Linked DNA regions of Homo sapiens: region 1 is linked to region 2. The links are contacts of gene promoters, found by promoter capture Hi-C in human tissues and cell types (Jung and others, 2019). All regions are on one chromosome and are shown on one strand. The core of a region is centred on a gene start or on the middle of the fragment in contact, and the rest is flanking DNA. Distances in the headings are between cores, read along the strand shown. Region 1 has its middle 96 kb from the start of VWDE. Region 2 holds the start of THSD7A (thrombospondin type 1 domain containing 7A).

Region 1 (4,856 bases), core at 1,487-3,986, 480 kb after region 2:
AGTCCTGTGCCCCACAACCAGGAACTGACTCAGCATAAAAGGACAGTTTTTGACTCCCTATGATTTCATCCCCAAGCCAACCAATCAGCACTCCCAACTCACTGGCCCCCAACCCACCAAATTATTCTTAAAAACTCTGATCTCTCAGAGAGACTGATTTGAGTAATAAAACTCCAGTCTCCCATACAGCTGGCTCTGCATGAATTGAGCTCTTTATTGCAATTTCCCTGTCTCAATTAATCGGCTCTGTCTAGGCAGCAGGCAAGGAGAACCCATTGGGTGATACAGTCAAGGATGAGAGAGATTCTTAGAGTAAATAATTTTTGAAAAGACTGAAAGAATGGTTTGTGACAAGGTCTTTATGAGTGTGCCAAAGTCTCCTCTCCCATGATGAAGTTAATCTTCCCTGGTTACTGGAATTCCCTGGGGAGAGAATTAATGACAATAGAGTTTTTTTTTTGGAGGATTTCTCTTTTGGCAGATGAGAGAAATTCAGAAAGCCCCACCCTGCATTTTACTATTTTTCAAGTGCCTTTAGTTCGAATTACAAGCATATCTCAGAGACATTGTGTACTCAGTTCTACGCTATAGAAATAAAGCAAGTATCACAAGAACATGAGTTACACAATTTTTTGGTTATGCAGTGTATATAAGTTATATTTATACTGTACTATAGTCTATTAATTATGCAATATCATTATTTCTAGAAATACAATGTACATTCCTTAATTTAAAAATACTTTATTGCTAAAAAATGTTAGCTATCATCTGAGCCTTCAGCAAGTCAATCTTTGCTGTTAGAGGGTCCTGCCTTGACGATGATGGATGCTCACTGATCAAGGTGGTAGTAGCTAAAGGTAAGAACAGAGACCCCACTTAGGGGTTTGCCAGCCCCCCACCAACCCCAAGAAAATAACCACATGAAAATAAAGGAAAATTCTTGCTTTCCAAGGAAATTCCAGCTAGCCTTGAGAATTAAAGAACCCAATAAGGAAGAAGATATTAATAGCTTAAACAAGCTATTTAGTTTATAATTTGTTTATAGCTTTTGGGAAGAACTATTATTTAAACTACAAAGTAAGTAGCTTAAACAAGTCACCCAAGCAAGTCAACGTCTCAGAGTGTTTTGGTTCTCTAGAGAAACTAAAAGATACATTCGTTCTTGAGTTATTTTTCAGAAATCAGGATGTTCAGCAGATGGAAAATGATGACCGCTGTCACCTAGATCTCAGATAAAAGAGAACTGAGGACTGGACTCTGGCTGCCAGTCTTTGTTCTGAGTTTCTCCTTGAGGGACCTGGAAAGAGTCACACCTTCAAGCCATTATTCTTACTAACCTGGTTGCTCTGACCCAGTAAATTATGGCTTGTTCTCCTGGCCTGACTCTGGCATGGCACCCTATAATGATTAACAGTTTCCCCTATCTTAACTAACCTATGTTAAGCCCAAACCTTCACATTTCTTTCCGTCAACCACAAGTTTTTGAACAAAGCCTTGCTTCCTTAATTGCAAATCAAAGAATCTCTGAATCTTCCTATAATCTGTAAGCCCCTGCTTCAAGAAATCCTACTTTTTGGGACCAAACCAATGTATAACCTTCATGTATTATGATTTTGCCTATTACTTCTGCTCTCCTGAAATGTGCACCTGCCTAATAAACTCTTACTTGTAAGCCATCAGAAACTTCTTCTTAAGCATTAACTGCCTGTCCTTCTTGCTTGGCACCCTGCAATAAATGCCCATCTTTCTCTAGCTGCAAACGTTGGTATCATTTGGCTTTCTGGTGCCAGGCAAGCAAATACAAGTTCAGTTCAATAAGAAAGATTGGTATGGCTGTGGAAATAAGGCAACAGTGAAGTTTGCCGGTTCGATTGACCATTTCATGCACTTATTTCTCTGTAGCATATGCTCCTGTTTGACAGCATTTTACCTATAGCAGAACTTCTTCCCAAATTGGAGTCAAGCCTCTCAAACTCTGCCTCTGCTTTGTTAACGAAGGTGTTGTAATATTCTATATCTTGTTATTTCAATAATGTTTACATCATCTTTACCAGGAGTAGATTCCCTCTCAAGAAGCCACTTTCTTTGCTCATCCTTAAAGAGCAACTCCTTTTTTTTTCTTTTTTTTGAGATGGAGTCTCACTCTGTCGCCCAAGCTACAGTGCAGTGGCACAATCCCAGCTCACTGCAACCTCCACCTCCCAGGTTCAAGTGATTCTCCTGCTTCAGCCTCCCAAGTAGCTGGGATTACAGGCACACGCCACCATGCCCAGCTAATTCTTGTATTTTTAGTAGAGACGAGGTTTCACCGTGTTGGTCAGGCTGGTCTCAAACTCCCGACCTCGTGATCCACCTGCCTCGGCCTCCCAAAGTGCTGGGATTACAGGTGTAATCCCAACTCCTGTACCAGGCCAACTCCTTTGGTTTTTTATAAGTTTTATCATGAAATTGCTGCAAGTCAGTCACATCTTCGGGTTCCACTTCTAATTCTAATTATCTTGAGTGGATTTAGAACAACTTTTAAGAGCCCTAGGATTTTAAGGAAGGATAAGGAGGATTGGCTTCAACTTAAAGTCACCAGCTGCATTAGCTCCTAAGAAGAGAGTAAGCCTATCCTCTGAAGCTGTGAAGCCAAGCACTGACTTCTCCTCTTTAGCTGTGAAAGTCCTAGATGGCATCTATTTTTAATAGAAGACTGTTTAATCAACATTGAAAATCTCTTGTTTAGTATAGCCACCTTCATGAATGAAATTAACTAGATCTTCTAGATAACTAGATACAGCTTCTATATCAGGGCTTGCTACTTAACCTTGTACTTTTATGCTATGGAAACAGCTTCTTTTCTTCAACATCATAAACCAACCTCTGCTACCTTGAAACATCTCATTTTCAGCTTCTTCACCTCTCTCAGCCTTCATAGAATGAAAGAGAGTTAGGGTATTGCTCTGCAGGGAATGTTAAAGCAGGTTTTATCTTCTATCTAGACTACTAAAACTTTCTTCACATCAGCAAATAAGGCTATGTAATTTTCCCGTATGTGTTTACTGGAGTGGCACTTTTAATTTTCTTTAAAAACGTCCCGTGCATTCACAACTTAACTGTTTGGCACAAAAGGTCTAGCTTTTGGTCTATCCCAGCTTTCAACATGGCTTTCTCACTAAGCTTAATCATTTCTAGCTTTTGATTTAAGGTAAGATACGTACAACTCTTTCTTTCATTGAACATTAGAGGCCATTTTAGGGTTATTAATTGGCCTAATTTCAATATTACTGTGTCTCAGGGAAGAGGGAGGCCTGAGAAAAGGAGGAGATGAGGGAACTGCCTGTTGTGGCAGGAGTCAGAACTGACAAAATTTATGGATTAAATTTGCCATCTTATATTAGTGCAATTTGTGGAACTCCAAAACAACTACAATAGTAACATCAAAGATCACTGATTGCAGATCAACATAACAGATATAATAATTGTTTGAAATATTCCAAGAATTACCAAAATGTGACACAGAAACATGAACTAAGCATATGCTGTTGGAAAAATTGTTGCTGATAGATTTGTTTGATTCAGGGTTACCACAAACCTTCAATTTGTAAAAAACACAGTATTTGTAAAGTTCTGTAAAGTATGATAAAATGAGGTATGCTCAAAAATCAATCTACCAAAATGACATATTTTGCATAGCATTTTCCAAACTTCAATGGCTAGTTTTGTTGAAGAAGCAATTCAAGCATAATTGTTAACAACAAGTAAATTAGGTTAATATAAATGGGATAAAAGTTTATAAATAAAGTTGTCATAGTGGCAAACATCTTTTTCAATAACTTGAAATCTTAAAGTTATGCTAATATATGTAATAGATATTCATGAAATACTCAAGTCATTTCTAAATTAAACTGAAATATTAATTGCTGAATCTAAGTTTAAAGTATACATCTTTTGGCATCTTGCTTTTATGTGATACAGAGAAGCTAAACATGTCTCAGTTTGAAAACATGAAAAAATTATGAGGAAAGATACGGATTTTTATGGCTTTTAAAATTTTAAATATTGCTGGTTCTTTTAACATTTTGTTTTTCAGATTTAAGGAAACTTTTAAAAAAGCTATCTATAGCTTATAGCAATTTGGTAAGGTATACCCTTGTGATCAAAAATTGAAACGTTTACTTTTTCCTATCTAATCCCTCCAAAATCCAGAAACTATTCATGAGTATTCTTATTTTATGGCAATATATGTTCATAAATTCAAAAAAATATGCTTTTATAATAAAATACAATTGGTAATATTGACTATATTTCCAAGCCTTGGACTGGGATGCCATATTTCAGAATGTACATAGAACGAATCTATAGGTACTGCAGGAAAAGTCTCAAGTATGCATTGGCTTGGCTTTCTAGCCTCAAGAGGTCTTTAAAAGTCCAGCCTGATATTGCTTATCAAAAGTTTAGCAAAGCAAACTTGGAAAAAATAAAAGGGCTATGTTTTCAATTGCTATTCTTGGTGCACTTAAATAGGCCAATTTTCATGAGACTAGACTTATTTTGCAAACAAAATTAGTCTTACTCGGATTATCTTTGGTGTAAGTGGGGGCGTCGCTGTTAAGAGAAAAATTATATTGATGAAGAAAGACTATAGTGAACCTGTTATTAGATTGCAGCCGTGCTTATTGTTTGAGTTTTTTTTATCTACCTGTAGACTAGAGTGGATCCTGAATTCTGTTTTCCTCCAATATCTAGCTACATCCAATATCTGACTATATTTCCTCCAATATCTGGTTACAACCCTACAAGAACTGCTCTGTTCCTGAAGCCCTATAAATTGAGTTTGGACAACTTGATGTAAATTTCAAGGACAGATCTCA
Region 2 (5,002 bases), core at 1,601-4,100:
GGGGTTAAAAAGGCCCTTAGATATCATTTTATCTATTTAATGAGTATTACAAAATAGGAAGCCAAGAACCAAAGTCATTAATGACTTTACCAAAGTTCTACAGCATGTTAGTAACATACACAGTTTGAGTTCCTGTCCCAGATCTTCATCCAGTGTAACAACTTTCACTACATCATTTTAATTCAATAATCTCACCATTAATATGATTCTCTATAATCCTCTGTACCAAGACCAAGCTTACCCCATTGGAACAGATATTTTGGAGTATGTCACCTCTTTTCTCTTCCAATTCCCTTCTTGCCTCTTTATTTTCATCAAGTGATACACACATAGTGATTCTGTAACTTCTAAATTTTCATTTATGGTATATCTTTTTTCTTTAAATATTCTCTAGTTCTTTTGAGAACTACGTTCAACTCCTTTACAGATATATTAAAGTCTCCTTTCCCTTTGGTAAAAAAAAAAAAATAAAGAAGTCATTATTTTGCTTTCCAATTGAATGAACTATTTTTTTTTTTTACCAAACCAAGGATCACCAGTCAAGAAATATCTTTAACATCCTCATCACACTAGCTTACATTTGCATACAGCTTTGAAGTTTACCAATCACTTTCTCATAACTCATGTGATTTTCACACACTGCAGATAGGCAGAAGAAGGTGTCATCACATTTACATGCAGTTGAGAAAACTAAGGGTCAAAATTTAAGTGAACTGCCAAAATTCCTACAGCTAGCAAGAGCTAGGACTGGCACTGGAATCAAGGTCTCCATATCATTGTTTCTGAGAGCTTCCCACTATTTTAAACTGTTTATTGGCTTGTGTTCCTACCATGACATTTATGATGACATATATTGACACCTCAGATGCTGTACAGTGAATGTTGGCTGGGCTCTTTTCCATCTGAATTATTGCTTGGCTCTTGTTACTTTGCTAGTATAAATTTCAACTAGGCAACTACTATTTCATCCTACACTGACTTACCTAAGAAGCTCTCCCCAAGCATCCATATGATACCATTTAATGGTAAATTATAATTTGATTAATGTTTGTCATTATGAATGTGCTTTTAACAAGTAAAACCCTAGCTTACGCTAAATTAGAGATCTTCAAATCTTCGTTTCAAATTGAAGTAAATTAATTTTATTTCATTTGAATTCATTACTCAACTGATCTTCAAACTTAAGGTGTTAGCAAGAATAATCTTGCTTTTTAAAATGTGTATATGTTTCATGTAATCTTCTAAGACAAATTGTGTACTTTGACTTTAAATAAATTTCTGTTTAATCTCCTCACTAAATTTCTGGATAGCTGCAACTTCTTTAAAAATTCCAGATATCGATAGTGATGCAATTGTAGAGTAGACTGAGCTGTCTCTTCAGTAGTGGTGCAGAGATGGGCTGAAGCAGGAAAAGACACTCACTCCCTGAAACCTGTTTGCAACCCCATGACGAATACATACTTTCCCTTTCAACTACAACATTCTCTTAATGTTTGGCATGACCAAGTTATTCTTAAATTACCCCCTAGCTCTAAGCAACAGGAATAATCTTTTCCCATTTTATTCCTATGAACATGTGAAGTTTCAGGTCCCCTAAGGAATTCTCAATGTTTTTTTAATGCAGAGAGAAAGCGAACCCGCAGAAAAGGGGTTGGTAATTCCTCACTCCGTATTGTTTTCCTGCCTGTCACGGCCCCCGCCAGAAACTCCAAGCATTTTGCCAATGGGTAATGATGGGCAGTTAGTAGCTGCTTTTGTTGGGTGGTTGAAAAACAAAGCAAAACAATTCTCAAGGAAGGAAGAGAAAGTTTGAACCCAGACATCCTAAAAGTTGTACACTTTAAAAATCCTCCGACTCGCTAGTTAATAATTGAGTTTTCAGTCTTTCCCTGAAGGCTCACTGGAGCCCCATTTGCCTTTAATTGTTGGAACCGCCCTCACTTGGCTTGTTTCTGAGGTGTCCCACATATCACAAAGCTAAAGTTAACAAATTCAACTCTATATCCACAAATGTCATGACAGTGAGCATATTGCTTTGCCTAAAGAATAAAGACTGAGACTAAACTCTTTGCTTGTTCTTTGCTAGAAATCTGTTTGAGAAACTCCTAGTAGAATGAAAATCCAGGGGTTAAAAATAATGCACTTCATCATGGAAGTGCGCGTTGCCCTCATTACAGAGCTGCGAGAGAAATATTCCAGCTACTCACTGTTGCCTCTTAGTTGTTATGCTTTTCTTTCCTAATTGCATCGGACATGACCTATTTGCTTCCTAAGAAATCATACTTTTTACCTTAGGATACCAGCATAACCAAGCCATCCAAAAGCACCGGGGTCCCTACAGAAGCCCACCAGCTCCTTAATGTGGCCCCAGATGTGAAGATGGGGAAAGGGTAACTCCGTCCCACTTACCAGTCTTCCACAGATAGAGGGTGGGCGCCTCCGCCTCGCCCTGCGCCGCAGCCCTGCCGGCGCCCGGGCGTAGCAGCAGCAGCAGGAGCAGCGGCAGCGGCAGCGGCAGCGGCAGCAGCTGCAGGACGCCCCGGCGCGGCCCCGCAGCGCCCCGGCTCCCGGACGCCCAGCGCCTGGCTTGCAGCCCCATGCCGCCTGCAGCCACTCCAGGGTCCAGAGCCGTAGCACGCTCGGCAGGGAATTTTTCTCCGCTCTTGGAACGTCTTTTCAAAGAGTACAGAAAGCAAAGCTCTTTCCTGCTATTGTTCGCTTCAGATGAGAAGGAGGGAGAGCGCGTCTAACACCAGGGAACAATAGCGTCCGCGGTGGTGGCCGTGGCCGCTGCCGCCGCCGCCGCCGCCTCTGGCGGGGATGCTGCTGCCGCTGCCATTCCTCGCAGAATGGCAGGTCCCGGCGGCTCCGGAGGCAACTGTCCTCAGGGGGCCCCAGCTGACTGAGCAGGTCTGCTAGGTCTGGGAGGCAGCGCAGCCCCCGCCAGCTGGAGGGGGAGGAGGGGGGCGTGAGCCCAAAGGAGCAGAGGGGGCTGGAGGCAGAGGGAGGCGAGAGCGCGAGGGCGAGAAAGGGGGCGAGCAAAGGGGAGAGGGGCCAGCCAGGCGACACCCACCTCCGACATACCCGCCTAAAGAACTCCGGTGCACATGGTGCGATGAAATATGTTTGGAAGGATGCACCAATAAAAAGAATCATCACCCGGCAGATTTCAGAATGACAAATAACAGGCATTGATATTCACTGTCATCCAAGGAGTCAAATGCTAGATCTAGTGGCATGCTATTCTTAGTACGTATTTACACAAAGCATCAGTGTTTATTATCTATTTTTAAGCCATGGCTTCTGAATTACTTTGTGTGGGGAGCAGTATTTGAGATCAGGTGTGAAAACACGAGAGCAGAAATGTTGACTTGTCAAAATGCACTTAAACCCTTCTTTAAATGTTGTTTTTAACTTAATCTATTATCAATAAAAATATGAGCAATATTGATGCTCTGTGACAAATTAAATTGTCTTTTAATAGCCTTTAAAACTGAATTAGTGTTAATGAGTATTTGCAATGCTACCTAATTACATAAATACAATTGTACAAAAAAAAAACCCTTAAAATTAAAATTATATTTCAGGTATAGAGTTCTGTCCCTTCATCTACTTCTTTCCCTCAAAAATATGCTACTTCTAAGTATTCAGATAGTTGTGAGTCAAACTGAGTCAGTAATGCTGTCTGGATATCTTGGAATTAGTAAATTCTTCATTTAAAATTTCCCTGACACCGATTTTTCTTAACTCTTACTGTAGCAAAATGCCTGTCGCAATCTAAATAAGGAACCACATGTGTTTGCATCTTTTGTCCTTTGTGTTTTCACTTTCTTCTACCAGTAGTAATAGAAGAATGTGTGTGAAGTCGGATAATGCTTTCCCCTTTCTCCTTCTCCCTTTAGCTAATAATAATATATTTTATTATTAATTCATTTCACAGTAAAGCTAAAATAGTAGGCATTTAACCATTAAAAATTCAGCAAACGGAAAGCCAAAGAAAACTACTATCCCATCAGCAATTTTCAGCCAAATAAAATAAAATTTTAAAAGCAGGAAAACTACTTTTTATGAATTTACTCCAACATAGCTACCCTAGAGTTTAAGATGAGGAAGCTACTCTTTCTGAAAGAGGAAACCTTCCATAAGGCTCCCTTGGGACCCTTGTCATTTTGCAAAGCCTTCCAGACACAGCCCCTCTGCATGCATTAGATTAAAAGCGGGTTTGATCAAATAATTCCCAGGTCCTGCCTGTTTAAGTATTCTGACATCAGAGGAAATTAGCTACGTTGAAGGTTGCAAATTTGGTCTTTGTTTACTTTCCGCTCTGTTAGGCCTCTAAGAAGGAATTAAAAGCTCAGAGAGCCCGAGCGCTGTGAGTCTGTGATTAGGAGAGATAAGCTAGTGTGGCTTACTATTTCTTCACTCGTGAAAAACAGGCAACAATCAAAAGATTATAGGTTGATAAGGAATAAAAAGGAAGCCTGATCTTAACTAATGTATGGTTCCCTGAAGGATCACTTCTTTTGACAGTTACACCACAGAAGGAAATGGGACCTGCTATTGCTTCCTGGGTTCTGTCGTTTCAGGAAAATTTCCATGTCCACTCCACAAGGAATCATTTTCCCATCCTTTCTGCTTGTATTTCTCAGCTACTGTTAGTGCCCTAAACCTTGAAATCCTCTAACTCTGGCACAGGAAGTATTTCAAACTGGACATACTCTGCTAACAGCAGCCATTCTACGCATTCGTGGGAAGCGCCAATCAATTCACCAAGTGGGAATTCATTATATAACAGAGGACAGAGAGTCTGAGGAATTAAGTTAATGTGCAAGGTCATTTACCTAGCCCTTCAAAAAGCCATCCGACACTATACTTAATAGCTTATTGTCAAAAGAAATTTTAAGATTCTGACCTTTATATTTACCCATGGTGGTATAATAATAACTCAACTTGTCAAGAGTGTAAACATCATAGCTACAAATTCAAGCATTATACGGGGTCA

The links. Contacts are between HindIII fragments. The study calls those that stand out against the background at their distance.
Region 1: a fragment that was not itself captured here is called in contact with the fragment with the promoter of THSD7A in region 2 in 1 of the 25 tissues and cell types used here (mesendoderm cells).

The regions. Positions count from the first base shown.
Region 1 is chr7:12,305,669-12,310,524 of GRCh38, forward strand. No RefSeq gene overlaps it. Among named protein-coding and RNA genes, the nearest start is that of VWDE, 96 kb to the right of the region's middle. RefSeq lists silencers at 1-81, 2,422-2,622. The HindIII fragment of the contact is 3,913 bases long and covers 781-4,693 here.
Region 2 is chr7:11,829,348-11,834,349 of GRCh38, forward strand. It overlaps THSD7A (thrombospondin type 1 domain containing 7A), which reads right to left and starts at 2,851. Exons shown (of 28, transcript NM_015204.3): 1 at 2,410-2,851. The coding sequence starts at 2,599. RefSeq lists a silencer at 596-890 and enhancers at 2,448-2,988, 2,989-3,528. The HindIII fragment of the contact is 9,895 bases long and covers 1-5,002 here.